Regions from separate parts of the Homo sapiens genome. Here all the other regions are linked to region 1. The links are contacts of gene promoters, found by promoter capture Hi-C in blood cells and fetal thymus (Javierre and others, 2016). All regions are on one chromosome and are shown on one strand. Each heading gives the region's core, a stretch centred on a gene start or on the middle of the fragment in contact. The rest is flanking DNA. Distances are from core to core; before and after follow the strand shown.

The links. The method cuts DNA at HindIII sites, captures the fragments that hold promoters and counts their contacts. A CHiCAGO score of 5 or more calls a contact.
Region 2: a fragment that was not itself captured here is called in contact with the fragment with the promoter of OTUD6A in region 1 in 1 of 17 cell types (non-activated CD4 T cells); the score reaches 5.3 in non-activated CD4 T cells.
Region 3: a contact is called between a fragment that was not itself captured here and the fragment with the promoter of OTUD6A in region 1, in 1 of 17 cell types (M0 macrophages). The highest score is 6.2, in M0 macrophages.
Region 4: a contact is called between a fragment that was not itself captured here and the fragment with the promoter of OTUD6A in region 1, in 2 of 17 cell types (M0 macrophages and M1 macrophages). The highest score is 6.1, in M0 macrophages.

What each region holds. Positions count from the first base shown.
Region 1 is chrX:70,060,428-70,064,084 of GRCh38, reverse strand. OTUD6A (OTU deubiquitinase 6A) reads right to left here and starts at 1,628. Exons shown (of 1, transcript NM_207320.3): 1 at 1-1,628. The coding sequence starts at 1,560. The coding sequence ends at 694. The HindIII fragment of the contact is 21,287 bases long and covers 1-3,657 here.
Region 2 is chrX:69,472,071-69,475,727 of GRCh38, reverse strand. No RefSeq gene overlaps it. Among named protein-coding and RNA genes, the nearest start is that of NALF2, 30 kb to the left of the region's middle. The HindIII fragment of the contact is 1,751 bases long and covers 801-2,551 here.
Region 3 is chrX:69,522,067-69,525,723 of GRCh38, reverse strand. The region is part of intron 1 of NALF2 (NALCN channel auxiliary factor 2); the gene reads right to left. Among named protein-coding and RNA genes, the nearest start is that of NALF2, 20 kb to the right of the region's middle. The HindIII fragment of the contact is 6,171 bases long and covers 1-3,657 here.
Region 4 is chrX:69,538,775-69,542,431 of GRCh38, reverse strand. No RefSeq gene overlaps it. Among named protein-coding and RNA genes, the nearest start is that of NALF2, 36 kb to the right of the region's middle. The HindIII fragment of the contact is 6,274 bases long and covers 1-3,657 here.

The sequences.
Region 1 (3,657 bases), core at 379-2,878:
CTCAGCACCCCAAGTAGCTAGGATTACAGGCCCCCGCCAACCTGCCTGGCTAATTTTTCATTTTTTTGAGACGGAGTCTCACTGTCTTCCACGCTGGAGTGCAAAGGCACGATCTCGGCTCACTGCAACCTCCGCTTCCCGTCAAGCGATTCTCCTGCCTTAGCCTCCCGAGTATCTGGGACTACAGGTGCCTGCCACCACGCCCGGCTAATTTTTGTATTTTTTGTAGAGGTGGGGTTTCACCATGTTGGCCAGGCTGGTCTCGAACTCCTGACCTCGTGATCCGCCCGCCTCGGCCTCCCAAAGTGCTGGGATTACAGGCGTGAGCCACCGCGCCCGGCCAATATTTCCATTTTTGTGGTGAAGTTATACGCAACATGACCAAATCTTAGTTGGTGAGGGAGGTAAAAGACCCTTAAGGGCAAGAAGAGGTTAGAACTTTCAAATTTATGCCCCTCTGGTGGTGCAATGCAGAGATTTCCCTCATATTTCCGGGGAATTTCCCTCGAATTTCGTTTCCCACCCTGTGAAAGCAGCAAGGTTAGGAAAGCGGGGGCGGGGCGGGGGCGGGTAGTTTTGATTAAAAGGAAGGAAAAGAAAAACAGAGAAAAGCAAAAGGGGAAAATAAACTGAGCCTACTGAGGAGATGCGGCGACGGCGACAGTTTCCCGGGGCTGCTCAGCGCCTTGGGGCCTACAGGAGACGCGGGAGCACGCCCCCGGCGGCGCCGGCCTCGAGCGGTGTCACGGAGTTGTAGTGCTCGCCGAGGCTGTAGGCATAGCGCAGGTAGACCAGGATGATCGGCTTCTTGACGTACTCCTCCCCGATGATCAAGGTGGGCGAGTCGGCCTGGATCACCTCGATGGGGGTCTTCAGGACGTGCGACAGGGCCCTCAGCTCCAGCTGGCCTCCCCATGCCGTGGTGCGCACGATGTTGTCGCAGTAGATCATGAAGTCGTCGTAGCCGAAGGAGTCGCTGGTCTCGGGGTTGCTGAAGAAGGGCAGGAACTCGTCGACGTGCTTCTTCATGTAGCTGGCGGTGCGGCAGCGCAGCATCTCCACAGACACGCTGAACACCAGCTGGTCTTGGATGGCGCGGTACATGCAGTGGCCGTCGGCCGGGATCGCTTTCATCTCCAGACCCCTGGCTCCCAGGATGGCGGCGAGCTTCTCCTCCTCCTCGCGCTTGAAGCCGGCCAGGTGCTCCGACATCTCAGCCTGGAAGATGCTCTCCTGGCGCTCCCTCTCCTCGGACTCCATTCTTTCTCTCTTTCTGTGGGCTTTGGAGGAGCGGGGAGGCCGGTTTTCCAGATTCATCTTGGCCAGGTCTTCGACGACAGATTCAATGCTACTGTCGTCTTGGAACTTCTCCAGCTCCTGCCGGTGCTTCTGAGCCATCTCGGCCTCCATGCGGGCCACGTCTTGGAGCAACTGCTTTCTTTTCGTCTTGTCGGTCTTGGGGACCGAGTTTTTTAAGCTCCGGATCTGGGCCTGCAGCTCCTGCCTCTCGCGTTGGTGGCGGCGCAGTATGCGCTGCTGTTCACTCTTCGGATCATCCATGATGTTGAATGGCAAGCGGGAGTTGAAATTTGCTGGCAGTTCAAGTACCGAACAGACCAGAAGTCCTCAGCCTGTCCTAACGGTCGCTCTCTTTCACCTCACCGGCTCTAACCGCCGCTCTAGGCTCACCTCAGCCTCCGCTTCCCCTCCCCCATTCGCATTCTTCTCTGCCTTTGGTCACTGTGTCTCCATGGCCACGCCCCCGCAAGTGCTAGGCCACTTGCTGGGCCACCCGCAAATGCCCAGTGCTAGGATTGGCTGTTGGGAGACCGGAAGTATGAGCCCATTGGACCCCACAGCAAAGGTTTTTGGCGGGATTCAAATATGGCCTTCCTGCAATGTGTGTGGCAGTTGGGCCTGTAGAGTCTTTCGCTGATTGAGAGCCGACTTCATTTCCAAGTCTGCACACAATGCAGGCAGTAGCCATGCCTGACAGCCACATGACAGATACTACACCGCTGAATGTGCTCTAACCCTGGACTTGGCATTGCCCCTACTGTTGAGGAAGCAGTGCGTTTTTCTCCAGTCTTTCAGGTCCCTTCACCAGGGAACCATTAACTTGTGCATCAGAACAAGGACATTTCCTTACATTCCTGCAAACACAGTCCTTTCAGTTTACTCTTTTTTTGAGGGGGGGGCGCGGGGAACGGAGTCTCGCTCTGTCGCCCAGGCTGGAGTGCAATGGTGCAATCTCAGCTCACTGCAACCTCTGCCTCCCAGGTCCAAGCGATTCTCCTGCCTCAGCCTCCCGGGTAGCCGGGACTACAGGCGCCTGCCACCACGCCCGGCTAATTTTTGTATTTTTAGTAGAGACGAGGTTTCGCCGTGTTGGCCAGGCTGGTCTTGGAACTCCTGACCTCAGGTGATTTACTCGCCTCGGCCTCCCAAAGTGCTGGCATGAGCCACTGTGCCCAGTCACAAGTTTTTATTTTAGCCATTTTGATAAGTGTGAAGTTCCCTGATGGCTAATGATGTTCCTTTTTTCATGTGCTCATTTGTCATCTATGCCATATCCTTTTCAGTAAAATGTTTATGTCATTTGCCTATTTTCTCTCTCTTTTTTTTGGGGGGGGTGGAGTCTAGCTCTGTCACCGAGGGTGGAATGCAGTGGCGTGATCATGGCTCATTGCAGCCTCAAACTCCTGGGCTCAGGCTCAGGTGATCCTCCTGCCTCAACATCCTGAGTAGCTGGGACTACAGGCACCACCATACTTGGCTAATTTTGGGGAATTTTTTTTTTTTTTTTTTTTTTGCCAGATGCGGTGGCTCACGCCTGTAATCCCAGCACTTTGGGAGGCCAAGGTGGGAGGATGTCTTGAGGTCAGGAGTTCCAGACCAGCCTGGGCAACATGGTGAAGCCCTAACTCTACTAGAAATACAAAAATTAGCCAGGTGTGGTGGTGTGTGCCTGTAGTCCCAACTACTCCTGGGGGCTGAGGTGGGAGGATAGCTTGAGCCTGGGAAGCAGAAGTTGTAGTGAGCCAAGATAGCGGCACTGCACTCCAGTCTGGGCTCAAGTGGTCCTCCACCTCTGCCTTCCAAAGTGCTGGGATTACAGATGTGAGACACCATGCTCAGCCCTTCATTTGCCTATTTTCTTTCTCTCTCTCTCACTCTCTTTCTTCCTCTCTCTCTCTCTCTTACTCTCTTTCTTCTTCCTTCCTTGGTTTCCTTCCTTCCTTTTTTTTTCTTTTTTTTTTTGAGACGGAGTCTTGCTCTGTCACCCAGGCTGGAGTGCAGTGGCATGATCTCGGCTCACTGCAGCCTCCAGCTTCTGGGTTCAAGCAAGTCTCATGTCTCAGCCTCCTGAGTAGCTGGGACTACAGGCGCACACCACCACACCCGGATACTTTTTGTATTTTTAGTAGAGACAGGGTTTCACCATGTTGGCCAGGCTGGTCTTGAACTCCTGAGTTCAAGCGATCCCCCTGCCTTGGCCTCTCAAAGTGCCGGGATGACTACACACACCACCATATCCAGCTAACTTTTTTTTTTTTTTTTTTTTTTTTACTTTTTGTAGAAACGGGGCCTCACTATGTTGCTCAGGCTGGTTTCGAACTCCTGGGCTCAAGCGAGCCTCTCACCTCAGCCTCCCAA
Region 2 (3,657 bases), core at 427-2,926, 590 kb after region 1:
AAACGCTGCACCTATTAAATAATAAGTCCTAATTTTTCCCTTCCCCTGGCTCCTAGTAGCCTCTATTCTATTTTCTATCTCTGCAAATGTGCCTATTCTGAGTATCTCATAGAAATAAAATTATGCTATGTTTGTCCTTTTGTGTCTGGCTTACTTCACTTAGCATAATGTTTTCAAGGTTCATCCATGTTATAACATGCATCAGAATTTAATTTCTTTTTAAGGCTGAACAATATTCAATTTTATGTATTTACCACATTTTGTTCATTCATTCATGTGTTGATGGACACTTGAGTTGTTTGCACATTTTGGCTATTGTGAATAAAGCTGCTATGAACCTTGGTGTACAAGTATCTGTTTGAGTCCCTGCTTTCAGTGCTTTTCAGTATACTCAGGAGTGAAATTGCCAGTTCACATGGTAACTCTACATTTAAGAACGATCAAATTGTTTTTTCACAGTAGCTGCACCATTTTACATTCCCAATAGTAATGCAAGAGGGTTCCAATTATCCACATGCTTGCTAACATTTGTTATTTCACATTTTTAAAAATAATGTCATCCCTAATGGGTGTAAAATGGTCTCTCATTGTGGTTTTAATATGCATTTCTCTAATTAGTGAAGTTGAGCATCTTTTCATATGATTGTTGGCCATCTGTACATCTTCTTTGGAGAAATGTTTTACTCAAGTTATTTGCCCATTTTCAAATTGGGTTGTTTGTTTCTTCTGTTATTGAATGGTAGAAGTTCTTTATATATTCTGAATATTAATTCCTTATCAGATACATGATTTGTAAAGCTTTTCTTTCATTCTGTGGGTTGTCTTTTCTTTTGTTAGTGTCCTTTGATGCACAAAAGTTTTTGATTTGTTGAAGCCTCATTTATCTATTTTTTTCTTTTGTTGCCTGTGTTTTTGTTGTCATATCAAATGCCACATCCAATGTCCCATGTGTTCTAAGAATTTTATAGTTTTAGATCTTATGTACAGGTATTTGATCCATTTTGAATTAATTTTTGTATACGGTGCTGAGTAAGGATCCAACTTCATTCTTTTAAATGTAGATATTCAGTCTTCCTACCACCATTTGTTGAAAAGGTATTTCTTTCCCCCATTGAATGGTCTTTGTACCTTTGTCAAAAATAAAATGTTGACTATATAGGTGAATGTTTATATCTGGGCTCTCTATTCTATTCCATTCATCTATATGTCTGTCCTTATGTCAGTACCATACTGTTTTCATTATTGTAGATTTGTAGTAAGTTTTGAGATCCAGAGGTGTGAGACAGCTGGGCAGTGGTTCACACAAGTAATCCCAGCACTTTGGGAGGCTGAGGCAGGAGGATTACTTGAGGCCAGGTGTTCTAGGCCAGCCTGGGAAACATAGTGAGACCACTGTCTCTATAAAAAATTTAAAAATTAGCTGAGCATGGTGACACATACCTGTAGTCCTAGCTACTCAGGGAGGCTTAGGTGGGAGGATCTCGAGCACAGGAGGTTGAGGCTTTAGTCAGCCATGATTGCACCACTGCATTTCAGCCTGGGTGACAGTGCAAGGCCCTGTCTCAAAAAAAAAAAGTGTGAGTCCTCTGACTTTTTTCCTTCTTTTTCAAGGGTGTTTTGACTATTTGGGGTCCCTTGAGATTCCATATGAAGTTTAGGATGGGTTTTTCTATTTATGTGAAAAAAAACCTCAATTAGGATTTTTGATGAGGATTGCATTGAATCTGTAGATAGCTTTGAGTATTATTGTCATCTTAATCTTAAATCTTCCAATCCATGATAACCAGATGTCTTGCTATTTATTTATGTTTTCTTTCAGCAGTGTTTGTAGTTTTCATTTACAAGGCTTTTGACTTCTTGGTTAAATTTATTCTTAAGTATTTTATTCTTTTCAACGCTATTGTAAATGGAATTACTTTTTTTTTTTGAGACAGAGTTTCACTCTTGTTGCCCAGGCTGGAGTGCAATGGTGCGATCTTGGCTCACTGCAACTTCTGCCTCCCAGGTTCAAGCAATTCTCGTGCCTCAGCCTCCCGAGTAGCTGGGATTACAGGCATGCGCCACCACGCCTGGCTAATTTTTGTATTTTTAGTAGAGACAGGGTTTCTCCATGTTGGTCAGACTGGTCTTGAACTCCTGACCTCAGGTGATCCACCTGCCTCGGGCCTCCCAAAGTGCTGGGATTATAGGCATGAGCCACTGCGTCCAGTTGGAATTACTTCTTAATATCCTTTTTGGATTGTTCCTTCCTAGTTGACAAAATGCAACTAATATTTTGTGTGTTGATTTTGTGTTCTGCAACTTGGCTGAATTTATTTATTAGTTCTAACAGTTTTCTTTTCTGGAATCTTTAGTGTTTTCTACATACAGGATCATGTTGTCTGTGAAAGAGATAATTTTAATCCTTCCTTTCCAATGAGGATGCCTTTTATTTATTTATTTATTTATTTATTTTTGCCTAATTGCTCTGGCCAGAACTTCCAATATTATGTTAAATAGAAGTGGTAAAAGTGGGCATTTCTTCCTTATTCCTGATCTTAAAGGAAAAGCTTCCAAACTTTTACCATTGAGTATGATGTTAGCTATGGGTTTTTCAATATTTCCTTTATGATGTTGAGGAAAGTAAGATAGGGGTTGGCAGATGAAACTAATATTTATTGCACACATGTTATATGCCAGACACTCTTCTAGGTATGTTTATGCATAATTAAGTCATTCAACAAATATTTATTGAATGCTAGGTGGCAGGCACCACAGATACAATGGGAAGCAAAAGATTCATGATCTTTCTACCATGGAGACTACAGTCAACTGAGTGAGACAGGCATTGCAGACAGATGGTGTATGTATGCAAATAAATAAATAAATGAGATGATGGCTGGGAAGGAAAGAAACAGGGTACTTAGGGATACCCTGAGAAAGAAAGAGTAATTATGGGAGTCCGTTTTTGGTAGACAGGGAAGACTTCTCTGAGGGAGTTGCATTTAAGCTGAGACCTGAAAGGTGACAAGCTAGTGATGTAATTATAATTGAGGAAGAGGATGCCAAGCAGAAGAAACAATAACAGGTGGTAAAGGGCTTGAAGGGCTTAGTGAATACAAAGGAGGCCAGTGTGGCTAAAACATAGTATTGATAAAGGAACACATGCTACAAGGTGGCAAGATTCAGAACACAAACAGCATTGAAAGGACATGGTAAGAAATTTAGATTTAATTTCTTGAGGGATAGGAATCCATTGAAAGGAATGGAATAGAGGACTTGCATGGTCTGAGTTACATGTTAAAAAAAGTCATTCCAGCTATGGGGCTGGACGTGCAAGAGTGACTGGACTGCAAAGGGGCATCAAGAATCTTTTGGGGATGATGAAAATGTTCTGTATCCTGATTGTAGTGGTGTTTTCATAGGTGTATATATCTGTCAAAACTTATCGAACCATACTGTCAAATCGTACCATTAAACCAAAAAAATCATACTATCAAATCAAATCGAATCACTTATTGTACATAACTTATATCTCAATAGTAAATTTTTAACTTTCTGGCTGCTGTGTGGGGAATGGATGGTAGGGGGCAAGAATTGCAGGGCATTAGAAAGCTATTGCAGTTACCTTGACCATAGGTGTTAATATCTTATTTACTCCTTCTAGACAACCTTGTA
Region 3 (3,657 bases), core at 648-3,147, 540 kb after region 1:
TTAAGAGTGGGGTGAGGGTGAAAGAAGTTGAAAGGTAGGGACATAACAGAGGGTGAGATAGGGGTAAGCGGAGCTGTTAAGAGGAAGCGGTAAGAAAGAGGGAGTAAGAAAGATGGGTAAGAACAAGCGGGGGTGAATAAGATGGAATAAGAGTGGCTAAGAGAGATGGGGCTGTAAGAAAGCAAAGCTAAGAAAGAGGAATAAGAGAGCGCAAGAAGGGGAGGAGAAAGAAACAGAAGTAAGGCAGGAAAGAACATGAAATTACAAGAACTAAGGGTCCCAGTACCTTAGAGACTTCCCTCCATCTTTTGAGCCCCAGAGTGCCAAGATGAGTCTCTGTCCATAGGCTCTGCCTCAATGTCTGTAGCCTGGACCCAGAGCCTGCCTCACCCTCACCCCAAAATGTGTGCAATCGGCCCCCTCCCAACCCTGCATCCATCAGTGTGACTCAGAGGTCCCTGTGGAATTCTCTCTGGGCTCTTCTAGTTCAGTGTTCCAGCTCCTAGGTGAGGAGGCCCCAGTGGAGTTCCTGCCCTCCTCCCAGGCAACTGCAATTAGCCCAGTAACAGGCTATGGTGGCTGGGCGCTCCCGTCATCTGCTCCTGGAGGGAGGAATGGAGGGAGCCAGCCAGGGTAGGTTGGGGAAGGGGGAGGGGTGGCCTGACATTGGGAGTGTGGCCTTTCTCCTTAATTAGACGACCTCCCCACTCAGTCCCCACACCCCCAGCCAGAGTCACCATGACAACAAGTGGGTGAGCAGATTGCTTGGGGAGGACACCAGGCCTGTGGGTGGCGAGGCAGGAACAGGCAAGGAGCTAATGAGGGGAATGGAGGAAGAAGAGTGATGTGGGGCTCAGAGGTAATCCAATTCCTCAGCCCCACAGCCGGCCAGCGGAGGCCATTGCTATCCCTCATGCCTCAGAGGTAGCCTGGGGTCCTTCTCAGGTGAAAGATCTGGCTCTCAGTGTTTGTTACAGCTTGGGCAACAAGCCTGCCTTAGACTCTGCAGCCCTGTTTCTTAGATGGACCTAGGTAGCTTGCCCTGTTTCACTAGTGTTAGGACTGAGCCAGGGGTTGACGGGGGAGGTTGTTTGGGCATTCACAGGTTCCTGGGCACTTGTCTACAAGGATGGAGGAAAGCCAGGAGGGCCCGGCTTAGGAGAGTTGTGGGGCTTGCTGGAGGCAAGGGATGCAGGGAAAGGGAAGAAATGTCTCAGAACAAGATAACAGTCAGTTCTGGGTGAACTACGGAGCTCTTTTGTTCTCCAGGATCTCAACTCTGGCTGCATATCACAATCACTCAAAGAGCTTCCAAAAAATACTCCTGTCTTGGGCTGGATGCGGTGGCTCATGATGGTAATCCCAGCACTTTGGGAGGCTGAAGCTGGTGGATTGCTTGAGTCCAGGAGTCCTAGACCAGCCTGGACAACATGGTGAAACCCTGTCTCTACATAAAAACATAGCTGGGTGTGGTGGTGCACACCTTGGATCCCACTTATTTAGGATGCTGAGGTGGGAGGGTCACCTTTGCCCAGGGGGAGGAGGTTGCAGTGAGCTGAGATCACACCATTGCACTCCAACCTGGGCAACACAGTGAGACCCTGTCTAAAAAAAAAAAAAAAAGAAAAAAAATACTCCTGTCTGGCTCACATCACATCCAGACCAACTAAGTCAGAATCCTTGTGGGTGGAGCCTACACATCTGTAGTTTTTCAAAATACCTCAGGCAATTTTAGTATGCAGCCACGGTTGAGAACCATCGGTTTGGGAGGAACTGGAAACCTGGTTTCCCACCTCCAACTCCAGGGTTCTTCCTACTGAACAATCCTACCAGCAACAGTGAATTCAAAATTTAAGAGGCAGGACACAGGGCATGGGGAGGGGAGGAGAGCTGAGGAGAACCAGGCCTGCTCTGGCATGTTAGACTCTTCAAACTCTAGCCCTGGCATAAAAGGCTTTCCAATTATGCCCTGTCCTCTGGGCTTAACCATCCTGAACCCTTGAGATGGCAGCGGGGGATGGGTGGGGTGGGAAGCATTGACCTGGCAGTGCCCTCCTTTCCCCACCTCAGTCGGGCCACTGCTGGGCTCAATCAAGTTCTGGCTGCTACAGCCCAGTTGCTATGGGAACTGGGAGGGGAAGGGAGCAGGAAATAACTAGAGGGAACACCAATTAACCCAAAAAGGAAGCTGCGAAGGCTGTCCCATCCCTCCTCCCAGCTGGGCTGCAGAGCACTCCAGAAATGGGAGGGGCAAGATGAGAGGTGTCACCACCCCTCCTGGGCTCTGCAGTTGCCAATCTAGGGAGGACCCAGAGAGCCTTACCCTCTGGCTCTGGCGCTTGCAGCCCTGGCCAGGGCATCATCATCCCCACTCTCCTCTAGAAAGAAGACTTTTACATCCCAAAGCCAGGACTCAGGGCCAGAAAGTTTAGAAAGCGGAGGCCATACCGAGCTCCTTGGTTCTGGGGCTGAAAAGCCCTCCAGGGAGGAGAGCTTTAGTTCTTGCCAACCAGGAAGTAAGCAGTTTCCTTCATGGATTCTAACTTGCTTCCATCCCTGGGGCCTGTTTCCCCATCCAAATCCTCCCTATAGGCCTTCTCTCCAGGGCTGCTTGTCTTCCTAATGTACCCTTGGGGCCCTTGGCCAGCAGCTGGAGCTGCAGCCGCAGAGCCTGTGGAGGCAAAGCAGCAATGTGAGCTACACATGGGGATGAAATCCACTGTCCACAGACACCACGGTACACTCCGCTCCCAGATTTTACCCATAGGGAAACTGAGACCCAAAGAAGAGGGTTGGCTTAGCCAAGTCAGAGGCATGCAAGAAATCAACTATAAGCCATGATTAGAAGGGAGGCAACCTGACTGCTAACCTGATGCCTCTTTGTACTGCATCCATCAGCACACAGAGAAGTGTGTGAGGAACCCCCTCGGGCAGGGTCTGAAAAGAGCCAAGTGCTCCTAGTCCCGACTCTGGGCTTTCAAAAGTTGGATCAGAACAGGGTTAGGTCAAAATCAGTCTCCTCAACCAGAGGAAGGAGATCATGGACATAACTCTGGGGACAGTAGTTCACTGGGATTGGTAGAATCAGACTGGGATTAGATGCATTAAAGGGCAAATCCAGGTGGATAATAGGGTTCTACTTAAGTGGCTGTAAAAATAAGCAACAGCTGTCCTGCTTCTCAAACTGAGCAGTCATGAGTCAAAGTGGCATGGCCTGAAGGAAAGGCAGGGGAGATGGCCAGAGAGGAGGGTGAGAACCTAGAGCCAGTGCAGTTCCAGAAAGCTCTCCCACCACCAAGCCTCTTGGGCCATCTGCTCAAAGGCCAGTGGCTGGATGGGCCCAGCCTGGACAGGGTTGGTCCAGTGGAGAAACAGTGTTCCTAATGTAGGAGCAGCTCTGAAGGGGCCTAGATAATCCCTGTCAATCAGGTGAGCAGAGGAGTCAGGGTCATGACTGTTCCAGAATAGAAGGGACCATGAGAACCATCACAACACTGCCCTATCTGCTGTTGGAATTTCCACTCCAACATCACTGCCAAGTGCTTATCCAGTTTCTGATTGTAAGCCTTGTCACAGGGGGTCATGCTGTCCTAGGGCAGCCCATATCTTCAGATAACTCTAGCAGTTACAGAAGTTCTTCCTTATTTTGAACTAATT
Region 4 (3,657 bases), core at 388-2,887, 520 kb after region 1:
CCATACACAGATGCAAGGGCTCTGCCCACTTCAGAGATCCCTCTCCAGATAACTGGGAGAAGCACTTTCGGAGAAGGAGGGTTTAAGACCTGGTCTTTGGGTGCACTGCTGTTGCCAAACTTCTTTTCACTTTAGCCACAATCCCCAGAAGGCTGAACTTCTGGGTGCCAAGAAGGCAGCCCAAACGAGGAATTTTTAGAGCTTGAATGTAGCCAGCCTGAGCAGAATAGAGGAGATGGCCCAGGCAAGAAGAAGCAGAGTAAACACGATTTATGTACACTTGGACATAGAATGACGACTGTGTAAATGACTGCAAATGAAAGGCTGGGGTACTGCAGACTCCAGGTTGTTTCCTGTGCAGCCTTGATTGTGATTCAACTTGTCTGTGACTTCAGGTTGTCTTAGGAGGGATACTGGAATTGGTTTTTTTGTTCCTTTTGTATCTACTGCAGGATTTATTAAAACAAGATTTTTTTTTTCACTTAGATTCATGGTGTAAAATTCAAAAGAAATACAAAGGTATATATTGAAAAAAAAGCATGTCTTCTTTCTCTCCCAGCTACACAATTCTTTTCCCCAGAGGCAGCACTGGTCACCAATTTCTTGACTTATCCTTCCATAGATATTTTACGTCTACACTATATTCAGACATCCTTCCAGAGATATTCTATACAAATACAAATATAAGCAAGTACATGTGTGCGTGTTTATATTTCCCTTTTCCCCTTCCTACAGAAATGGAAGCATATCGTACACACCACTCTTCATGTTCTTTTTAATGATCACATAGTATTCCACTGTAGGTATGTGTCAAATTGATGACATTTCAGTTCTTTCTAATAGTTTCTATTATTCATGATGCTGTACATACATCACTTGGCAGAGATGTGAGTGTATCTTACTAGAATTGTTATTACTATTGAGTCCTTGAGCCAAATTTTAAACCCAACTTTGGGGCTGCAGGAGAGGATGCTCTGGAATGCCATGGCCTCATTTTGCCTCCCTTTACCATCTTTGCTGCTTCTCTTGACCTTCAAGTTGGTGTGACTAAGTGCCATTCTGGGACATTAAAGAGAAGGCAGGCAAAGGTTTCTGACTGGCCTGGTAGGGATCTCTTGAGATGTCCCCATTGGCTGACAATTTCTGCTTCATGATGTTCCTTGCCCCTTGTACCATTTAAGCAGTGGTGAGAGATGACAGACTGGTTTTAGAGGCCAGGAAGATAATGAAAACCCACGTAGCTAGCTGCATGTAAGATGACAAATGGCAAGTGACACCTGGCTTCAGTGTCAGGGACCAAATGGGAATTTACAGGACTGAGGCTGACCAGGAAAGAGCACATCCCACCTGAAGAGGGCGGATTCCATTCTAGGCAACAGTGGAGATCCAGGGCTGTCAGATCTTCTGAATATTTAAGGGGAAGTGAGAAATTTGAGTTTTATGTGAATTCTCCCCAATTTGTATATAATAATAATAGTAATAACAAACACATAGCATTTACTATGTGTCAGATACTATTCTAAGAGCTTTAGATATAACTCAACACTCATAGTAACCCTATGAGGTAGAGTACTATTTTTTAAATCTCCATTTTACAGATGAGCAAGATGAAGCACAGAGAGTTTAAGTAACCTTCCCAGAGTCACAGAGAACAAGTGACAGAGGCAGGATGCAAACCTAAGCTATGTTGTTAATGACTACACTATACAACCTCTTATAGAGGAAACCCAACTCAAATTTAAATACTGAATAGATCAACACTGCCAAGTTAAACAAAATAGCTCTGGAAGCTCCAGGTGGAGACTTCTACATTAGAAAGGGTTTGGCATGAGGCTGGCTGTTGCTCTGATGGTCCTGCAAACCTCAACATTGACTGAGTTCCCCTGCCATCATTCAGAGCCAGGCCAGGTGTCAGCATGGCCCAGGAGCCAGGTGAAAGCCCTTCACCTGGCTTCAGTCACATTGCCTGCTTTTTCAATCACTCTTGAGAACAGGGTGAGGGTACAGGGCTGGGGCCAGTTGACCTAGCTTTGGATCTTCAACAGATCATGAAACCATGGATGGAAAGCTGCTGGCACTGGTCTTAGAGTTGGAGTTCTTGGCTTCTATTCCTGGCCTTCTGCTCTGCATTTTGCTTGTTTATTTTGGGTGAGTGGATCTTTTGGCCTCCTCAAGCCTCAGTTTTTTTAATCTGTAAACCTAAATTAATTTCTACTGTGCATGGTTATTGTGAGGATTAGCAAGACACTGTGTGTATGTATACATGCAGTACAAGTGGAAAAGGGTATTCTAAGCAGCAGAGCTAATTTGGGGGACAGGAAGCTGTCATTTCCCAGAGGAAGTTACCCCAAGATGGAGCCAGGGAAGAGGAACTGTCTCTTCCTCTTATCCCAGCCTTCTCAGGGCTGTGTCTTTCATTCCAAGCTCTTTTGTCCACTAGGCCACAAATGAGCCATATCTGACCCTGGGCATTGATTCCAGGAGTCCAAGGGCCCAGGGCATCTTGAAATTAACCATCAGTGTTTGTCTGCCAATAAATCTACCTTTGCAATTTTCCTCTTCACCTGTATGCTTTTCCATGTTAATTTTCAGGTTTGTGTTCTGGGTTCAACAAGGCTAAGATCAATATAGGAGTCTCTGACCTTTCCTCAAGAACGGCTACCTACAGTCTTAGTATCTGTGAATAGCAGGTTCCTCAAGAAAAACAAAAACAAAAAACCAACCCAAGTGCTGAAAGTGAAACTCGATATTACAGAGAAGCCTGGTCATGCATGTCATCAAGCACTTTGTGGCAGGATGCTGTGTGCTCGTTGAGAATAAAGCCTCCTGCCTCCTGTACCAGCAGGAGGGTCATGAGGGGACAAGACAGAGGAGAAGAGGGAACAAGGAGATGGCAGGAGAGGACAGATCCTGGGAACAGGGGAAAAAGAGAGGGGCCAAAGGAATAAATACGGATGTGCTCTAGTGTTCCAGGGCAGGCAGGAATTGTGTTCTCTGCATCTCTCTAGTCTTGTGACAATGTGATCATGAGTTAAGGCTGTTCAAATAGATGCTATGGAGCCCTGTATAGAGTCTTACAGAGCCTCCCACTCTGTTCGGTTCCTGTTCTAATTCCTCTTCTACTCAGGGCAGCCCACCAGGGGTATGCCTTTGAGTCTGGATGTGAGTTGAAGTGAGTTGGCCAAAATGGTCAGAATGTGGAAGGCCTTGAACACCAGCTTTCGATTTTTTCCCAAACAATGGGAACCATTAGAGGGGCAGGATGCCAGGCCAGTGCTCCAGGAGGCTCCTGGCTCTGTGCGAAGGTGTCTGGGCTGCAAGGGCAGGAGGCTAGAGGCAGGAATGCCAGTTGGGAGGTAATGAAGATCTGGGCAGACAACAGCAGTGACGAAGGAGAGATCAGTTTAGGATATAGAATATATATATGGGGTGGTGGCAGATGTAATCTGGGACACATGGCAGGAGGGTGGAAAGGGCCACTGGAGGAGTCCCAGAAGATTGGCTTCTTGCTCCAGGGGCCGGGAGGAAAGGCAGGACTATTAACATAAACGGTGAATTGGCCCCTTAATGGCTCTGGTCCCTCCGCAGGAAAATGCTGCCCTTTCAGCCCTGAGCTCCCTTTAGTCCCGGGCCTGGCTGGACGGGACCGGCCGGCTC